Linked DNA regions of Homo sapiens: regions 1 and 2 are each linked to region 3. Evidence: promoter capture Hi-C in 16 types of primary human blood cells and fetal thymus (Javierre and others, 2016). All regions are on one chromosome and are shown on one strand. Each heading gives the region's core, a stretch centred on a gene start or on the middle of the fragment in contact. The rest is flanking DNA. Distances are from core to core; before and after follow the strand shown.

Region 1 (2,829 bases), core at 105-2,604, 170 kb before region 3:
TAAGGGAATCCCCGGACCAGACTAAGGAAGAAGCCCAGCCTAAAGTGGGAAGCTAAGTTCAGCTTTGGTGTGCTGCTGTTTAAGATAACAGCAGACCAGCATTGTTGGAGGAGGCAACTGACAAACCCATAGATGGGACTAGGGGCAGGATGGGAGGTGGAATTTGCTGCTTTGTCAAAGTTACAAAGGGTCTTCTAGGCATCTTCTTTAAGAATAAACCATCTATTCTTCTTACAGATTTCCTATGTGAGAAATCCTACAATGTCTTACAAAAAAAAAAAAAAGTCACTTTAGTGATTTACTACCATGACAGTAAAGACATCTTTCATTAGTTCTAAGAACATTGCGTCATCAGCCCACCTCAGTTCTAGAGGAAAGAGCTCTAGAGAATGGGAGCACCTGGATTCTAAATGGACACTGCCACTTAGCCTACATGACCTAGACAAGTTTTTGAACTGCAGTGGGCCCACAACACACCTCACAAGGGTATTATGCCAAACCAAGCTGCGGCGTGACCACAGTTCAGACGGAAAGCACTGGACTATTTTGGTTATTATCAACCATCATAGTATGAAGCTATTAGTAAGCTTCTATTAATGCGGCTCCAGAGTATCTAGATACCAGGAGAATGGGAGAGGGCCATGATCCTCTTCTCTGGCCAGTTGAGTTAGAATCCTGGCTCAATTACGGAAGCCACATTTTGTGAGATACTTAGAAAAATTGAAATATATTCTGAGAAAGTCAATCAGAATAGTAAACTATCACATGAAGAATGCTAATGAGATGAGGAAGAGTTTAGCTTAGAGAAAAAAGACTAAAAGACCATTCCCAGAATAGTCTGTTCTAGCAGCTGCTCCAGAAAAGAGGCAGGCCCTGGGGCTGTGGTAGGTAGCAGGGCGGCTGGTATCTCTTCACCTCTAAGAGCTTTCAAAAGTGGAATGGCTGCCTCCCGGAGACACTAGAAGTTTCCAGCCTAGACCGGGTATCATGCGTTGAAGATGCTGAAAGATGAAACCCTGTCCTATGCTGTTTGACCTGAAGAGCCTTCCAACTTCAGAAAGAAAAAAAATCTTCACTCTATGCACTACCTCAACACATACTCCATAAAATAAAATATAAGGGGCTCTATAAATATAAGGAAGTAAAATGGACAAAATTGTAGAAGTGACAACCCCATACAGGCAGGAAGAAAAATCTCTGCTTTAGATTGCTGAGCTGGAGTTCGTACACATCAGGTAATTATGATGGATTAATATGTGCAATGACAAATGGAATAAAACTCTAGGAGCCCAATGACCCAGTGCGGAAGCAGAAAAAACCCGAGTGAGCATATATTAATCCCCAGTATCATAACTGAAGATCAATACCATACATTTAAACTAAATGTGGCTAGAGAGACTCTAAATAGTTCAAACACTTATATTAACATTCTCAGGAACACAAGGTCAGGGGTGCAGTCATTCTTAGCTAGGAAGGGTGACTAAGCAGAGAAGTCCTGGGTGCTGGGATTCCACCTCTCTCCTTCTCTCTGCTACCAGGTGCAAGACATTTTCTCAAAAGACATCCCATAATTCTAAGTATTCTTGGTACTTGCTCTTGTAGAGAAGGTTTAATGCCCTTTTTAACCAAAAAGGACATCTTTTTAAAAGCAAGTCATCAATCATGAATCATTTTATTCTCTAGTTCTGGGAATACAGAGGACCAAATTAATTTCCGTCATCTTTTGGCTGTAAGTACACTCCTCCCTCTGGCTTCCAACATTATCGATCTGTAATAGGGGCAGGAGCCAGGAAGGTTCAAAGGCATTTGCTTTTAAGCCTGTCCACTGTGGTTCTAAAGGACATAGACATGGGGCTTTCTCCTGGCCATGCTGCACTGCCTGCAGACCTTTCTGCAGTATTCCTCAACCAGAGAGGTTCCCTGACTTCCCGAGTATCTGCTGTGGACAAAGACCAGGTAGACTAGCCATACACTGGGACTTAAAATCATGGAGATAGTTAAAATTAAGAGCTTTGGGGAGTTCCTTTAAGTCAAAACACTGTTCATTATCATACTAAAACTGTCCTTACGAACTGTATAAAATTAATCAGGGAAGAAGGGAGTGGGAAAATGAAAATAAACCAAGCTTGCAGCACATTCAGTGTTCATGAGGTCGGCTTGCTTTCTGACTCTCTTCCTCATAGTTATGTGGTGCCTACTGTCCTAGAATTACAGAGACCCTGTTACAAGACTATAGCTCCCGTTCACTGCTCTATAGATAACAACTTGAATATTAAAAAACATTTTCCATTTAAGATTTTCTTTCAGAGATCTGGGAAGTTCTCACTTCCCTAACAATCTCTCCTTGATTGACATCATCCATTCCCAAGGCTTTAAGTACCATCTACAGGTCAAGACCTGCATATCAGTGATACTAACATAGCTGGTCTGAAGGACCTCAGGAGAAACTAACTCAAAGAACGCAGTTTCCACATCCCGATGATTTCATCACCCTTCCTCCAACCAGTTCACAACCCCAGTTGTCTAGCCCCTTGCCCTCTGTGATCCCCTTAAAAACTCCAGCCCGGAACTCCTCAAGGAGGTGGATTTAAGGATCTCCTCCCATCTCCTCTCTTGGTGCCCTGTGATCATTAAACTCTTTCTCTGCTGAAAACCCTGCTGTCTCAGTGTAACTGGTCTGTTACTGTGCAGTGGGCATATGAACCTGTTGGTCCTGTAACAGTATATGTTTATTATATCCTAATAGAATCAAAGAGCTACTAGACAGTGCAGTGCTCTTTAACCCAGCCTAGACAGATGACACTAATAGAGGGACAATGGCCTGCACTC
Region 2 (2,700 bases), core at 1-2,500, 250 kb before region 3:
TGTCCTCACCCTACTTCCTATATCTCAATCAAGTACCAAGTTCTGCCCACAGGGGAGTATCATGCAGTCCTTTTTTTTTTCATTAATCTGGAGCTGGAGCTGCTGCTCCAGCTCAGGACTACCCAGCTCTCTCCTGGATCACTACAGTCACCGAAAGCGTGAGGGCATACCTCCGGGCACACCTTCACCCAAACACATTCCAACCAACAGCCAGAGTTTTCTCTGGATGCAAACCTTATCCAGTAGCCACATGTTAAAGGCCCATTTGTTTGTCCTCACTGTCTATGGCAGAAAGCCATAGATGAACAGTGTTCAGGTGAACTAAACACTGAGAGTGGCAGGAGCAGAATGGGCTGGTGGAGGGGAGGAGGGGAGGAGGAGGAGGAGGAGAGGAGAGCTGGGCCTGGGGGCTCCATGGACCAGGGCCAGAGAGCCAAGACACAGGTAAGAAAGGACAAAGTGGCCCGTCAGACTGGTGCTGAGAAAGCTCCATGGGGAAATAATGGGAGGCTGGAGGCAGGTTCACATTTTGAAGATGCCATTGTGATTCATGCCTGTCTGTCATGGCAAAGCAAAACACTGGCTTATTAAATAATTCTAATTCATATACTTTCTGAAGTGAATTTTCAAGATGTTTGAGGCATGGGTAGAAGTTACCAATCTGCATAACTATACTATTGGGTAGTGGGGAGGGGGTTAAATTTACAGAAATCATTCATAGTAGCTTTTACTGTAAAAAAAAAAAAAATATTAAGCCCTAAGGTCATTAACAGGTACAGATTGAGTATCCGTTATTCAAAATTTGAGAATTTTGAGACCAGAAGTGTTTCAGATTTTGGAGAATTTACATTATACTTACTGGTTGAGCATCCCTAATCTGAAAATCCAAAATGCAAAAATACTCCAGTAAGCATTTCCTCCCATCCATGCACTAACCAGGCCCGACCCTGCTTAGTTTCTGAGATCAGATAAGCTCAGGCACGTTCAGGGTGGTATGGCCGTAGATGCATTTCCTTTGAGTGTCATATTGGTGCTCAAAAAGTTTCAAATTTTAGAGCATTCTAGATTTGTGATGCTTGATCTGTATGAAAAATCACACTAGGAACTTGGAAATCAGAATCACCAATGGGAGAATTTTAAGATTTCAGCCCCTTTCTCCTGCTTCCATTAGAAAGGCTATCTATGCTTTTAATTTTATACATTAAACAGGGACTTTGTAACTTAAGAACAGAAAGTAAAAACTGTCCAAGGCAGATTTGTACCTAAGCTGGCACTGTGCTATAATCTGGAATCAACATAATCAAGGTTTAGTCTGAAGAATTTGTATGTTATTTGAAAAGCTAGGTTTTCCTTTAAGTTCCTGCTGTTGAGACTGCCTTTGGCAGTGGCAGGATCTGGGATTTAGAGGGAGATGACTGTGTTGGAATATTAGTTCTCAAAAGGAGGTACCAGTATGCTTCGTATTCTATTCAAAATTTGTTTTATAAACTCAAATGAACATAAGAGATCTAGTTTGATGACAGGACTGAAAGACTAAGAGATACCATGTTCAACGCTGGGCTGTAGACATCCGCAAAAGACCCAGGCAAGAAATACAAATTATGGTTCCATCCACACCCATCCCTTAAGAAGATTGGGCTACGTAAGGATACCTCACCTGAGAAGTGTCCCAACTATACACAAGCCCAGAGTCACAATGAAAAGTAGTCACCAAGCTCTTTTTTTTTTTTTTTTTTTTTTGAGACGGAGTCTCACTCTGTCACCCAGGCTGGAGTGCAATGGCACGATCTCAGCTCACTGCAAACTCCACCTCCCGGGTTCACGCCATTCTCCTGCCTCAGCCTCCCGAGTAGCTGGGACTACAGGCGCCCGCCACCACGCCTGGCTAATTTTTTGTATTTTTAGTAGAGATGGGGTTTCGCCATGTTAGCCAGGATGGTCTTGATCTCCTGACCTTGTGATCCGCCTGCCTTGGCCTCCCGAAGTGCTGGGATTACAGGCGTGAGCCACCGCACCCAGCCGTAGTCACCAAGCTCTTACTTGACAAAGGACCCATACAAAGGATCACATTTCTGAGCGAAAAGAAGTTTTTAAATTTTTATTTTTTAATTGACGCATAATAACTGTACATACATGGGGTACCTAGTTTTGACATATATAGTGTATAGTAATCAGATCAGGGCAATTGACAAACTCCAATTATGTGTTTAGAGTTATTAAGCAGTCTGTTTATAAGCTGACTGAGCAGTAAGAGAGCTGCCACAATTTACCTTAGGGCAGCCACCCGGGCATTTCTCACAATTTGTCCCCTTCGAACTCAAACACTCAAGCTAGCACCTCCAGACAAACCAATATTTTCCTGTCACTTGTTTAAAACCTGTACATAGGGACTGGCTTTGGTATTCTCTGCTATTCATTCCTATATATAGCTTTTAAAAGCCTGGGGCAAATCAAAAAGGGACTAAGAAGCATGAAAAAACTTTGTAAAGGCCATTTGGCAGTTTAAAAAAAGTCAACGTGCAGGTTTGTTACATCTGTATACATATGTATACATGTGCCATGTTGGTGTGCTGCACCCATTAACTCGTCATTTAGCATTAGGTATACCTCCTAATGCTATCTACATACGTAACAAACCTGCACGTTGTGCACATGTACCCTAAAACTTAAAGTATAATAATAATAAAATAAAAAGTCAAT
Region 3 (2,700 bases), core at 150-2,649:
AACTTGTTTTCTTAAAGGTGCATAGGGCACATGTGAAGAAAAGGCCTTTGCCCCTCTCACTACTGACTCCAGGTTGAAACTCGAGGGGTCCCGGGCGGCTGCAGCGCTGCCGCGAGCTCCCCTGGAAGCGGTGGCTTGTCCCTAACTTTAACCACAGCAACTGCTGCGGAACGCGGGCGTCTCCGCCCGGGCTGCACCTGTTCCCGATTCGGAGCACCCAGCCTCACACATCCCTTCTGACCTTGAAGGCATCCTGAAACTCACACCCTGCTCCCGGTTCGACTTTACTCCAACCCCCTCCCCGCAGTCACTGAAGCCCTCTTTGTACCAAAGAGGCCGCGTCAAAACATCCATCCCCAGCAAATTCACAATGCTCTTCCCTGGGGTCTCCGGAGATAACGGCGCACCCCTCTACCCATTGCTTACCCTCACTCCATCCAGCCGCCGCGCCCTCACGCCAGGTTGTCTCCTCCCTCTCCACCAAGTCCAGAACCCCCACCTCTCCCAAGTCCAGGGTTCCCTGTTGTGGGTATGCGGGAGGAAAGGACGCCTCGGAGGCGCGCCCTCGAGAGCCGGCGCCGCAGAGCCCCTGGGGTGGGGTCCACGGCGGGGACAGGGGACAGCAGCGGGAGCACCGCGGGGGCCCGTCCCGCGCACGGCGCTCAGAGCTGGCAGGGTCGCCCTGCCGTTCGGGGAACTCGGTTGGAGCCGAGCCCAGGCAACGAAAGTGAGGGGCGCGGCGGGGAGGGGGCGACAGCCCTGGCTTGGTGCTGAGCCGTGGCGCTGCGGAACCTCTAGGAGCCGGGTGGCCGGTCAGTGCGGGCGTTCCCGGAACCGCCAAACTTTCTCCGCCAACCGAAGTTAGGGACTCCGAGGACAGTGACGAGGAGGACACCGCGGAGGGGGGTCTCCCGTCACCTCCCGCCTCCAGTAGCCGAGGGAGAAGGCGACCCTGAGTACTAGGTGGCCCCGAGCGCGCCACCCCGGCCCCGGGGCGCCTCCCTCGCGGCCGCGCTCACCTGGCTGTAGAGCTCGCCCACCGACATGGCCCGGGCCGGGCGGGGCTCGGGCCCCGGCTCCTGGCTGCCCCGCGGCTCTCAGTCCGCGGCTGGCCCGCCTGGCGCCATGTTCCCGGGCTGGCCTGGAGTTTCTCGATCTTCTCGCTCTTCTCCGACCTGCCCCGCCGGCTTCCCGCAGGCGCCGCGGCCGGCTCGCTCCCGGCGGCGCGACCTTTACTCCCGCCGCGGCGGCGCAGCTACGGCCGGACAGGAGTTGCGAGCGCCGGGGGAGGAGGCCGCGCCGCACCACTCCCCTCCCAGGTGTGGGGAGGAGGCGAGGGCCGGCGAGGAGGGAGGACCCGCTCGCGTCAGAGCGGACGGCCCGTGCGCCGCCGCGCCTCTGAGCCCTGCCGGTGCCCGGCCCGACGCGCCCTCCCGCGCCCCCGCTGCCACCTGGGCCTCCGGGCCGGGGGCGGGGCGCTCAGAGAGGAGCTCCGGGACCGGCGCGGGCCGCCCCCTGCTGGACGCCGCGCGCGCGCAGGCACAGGTGCGCCCCGGCGCCCGCACCTGCCCTGCCGCGCTCCGCTTCCACCCGCACCGGGCCCCGCGGAGTCCGGCATGAACGCGGTGCAGACAAGAAAAGGGAAGAGGAACTAACCAGAGAGGGGGGAAAAAAGAGAAGCGTCTATGGCTGGAAGGCCCCAGACATTGCCCTCGATTTTACCTGGCTGTATTCAGCGCTTTCATGATTAAAATTCAGTTACTCGTAGATCGTTATTAAGGCGACCTGGATATACATACACCAGGGATCTTCTCCTTCAAACTGAACTCTCTGCGCGGAAATCCTTGTCAGTAAAGTGGGAGTCGTAACTCCTTCTGTACAAATATTGTCCACTTTCGCCCACAGCCTCCAAGGAGACTCCAGGCCACTCATCTCAGAGGGCTTCTGCTTTTCCGGGAAGTCTCACGTTCTCCCAACCCCCGTCTCGTCTACATGCAGACTCCGGGTCCTTTTGCCACTCACTACCTCGTTTATTTGTGTTCCCTCTCTGACCATGGCACTTGGCTGCCTGCAGCAACTTCAGCTCCTCTCCTACTTCCAGTGAAAAGTAGAAATTTCAACCAAGAAAAAAAAAAAAAAACTGCCAGAAGTCTGTGGAGGGAGACGAGGGGCTGTCAGAGGAGACACTCCCTTCTGAAGCTGACATCTGTCCCTGACCCAGGGGTGGCCCCTGAAAAGTGGTTCTCAACCGGAAGATATATCTGTACCAGCCGGGGCAGTTGTTCAAGAGCCCCAGAAGGTGATTCTCAGAGGCATCCCACCTGGAACTCAAGATCCCGTTGTAATTCACCTGTGCAGGCCTTCCCATGGGCACCTCCACAATGAGAGTCACATGGGGAGCTTTAAGCGTTCCAAGGAAGAGGCCCCAACCCAAGGAATTCTGATATAATGAAGGATGGGACCTGGGTATCCCAATTTTTAAAGCTCCTCTGAAAGTCTAAAGGATGGTACTTCCAGGGTGACAAATGCATTGACCAAAGCTTGGGCGGCTCTCATTGGACCTAAAAATGGAACTCTTCACATCAGTGGCAAGAGCAGAAAGGGATTTTTTTCTCTTCCTCAAAAGTTTTTCTGCATATTTCCCTTCCCCGGATTCCTGTAGCTCTTAAAGTGTGTCCCCACCCCCCACGCCCACCATCA

The links. The method cuts DNA at HindIII sites, captures the fragments that hold promoters and counts their contacts. A CHiCAGO score of 5 or more calls a contact.
Region 1: a fragment that was not itself captured here is called in contact with the fragment with the promoter of MYO5B in region 3 in 1 of 17 cell types (endothelial precursors); the score reaches 5.3 in endothelial precursors.
Region 2: a fragment that was not itself captured here is called in contact with the fragment with the promoter of MYO5B in region 3 in 1 of 17 cell types (naive CD4 T cells); the score reaches 5.6 in naive CD4 T cells.

Annotation. Positions count from the first base shown.
Region 1 is chr18:50,022,867-50,025,695 of GRCh38, forward strand. All of the region lies in intron 4 of MYO5B (myosin VB), which reads right to left. Among named protein-coding and RNA genes, the nearest start is that of MIR4320, 100 kb to the right of the region's middle. The HindIII fragment of the contact is 1,538 bases long and covers 586-2,123 here.
Region 2 is chr18:49,945,384-49,948,083 of GRCh38, forward strand. All of the region lies in intron 14 of MYO5B (myosin VB), which reads right to left. It also overlaps the pseudogene RNA5SP457. Among named protein-coding and RNA genes, the nearest start is that of SNHG22, 130 kb to the left of the region's middle. The HindIII fragment of the contact is 3,763 bases long and covers 1-2,700 here.
Region 3 is chr18:50,193,748-50,196,447 of GRCh38, forward strand. MYO5B (myosin VB) reads right to left here and starts at 1,400. Exons shown (of 40, transcript NM_001080467.3): 1 at 1,020-1,400. The coding sequence starts at 1,046. RefSeq lists silencers at 1,075-1,314, 1,375-1,614. The HindIII fragment of the contact is 3,223 bases long and covers 1-2,538 here.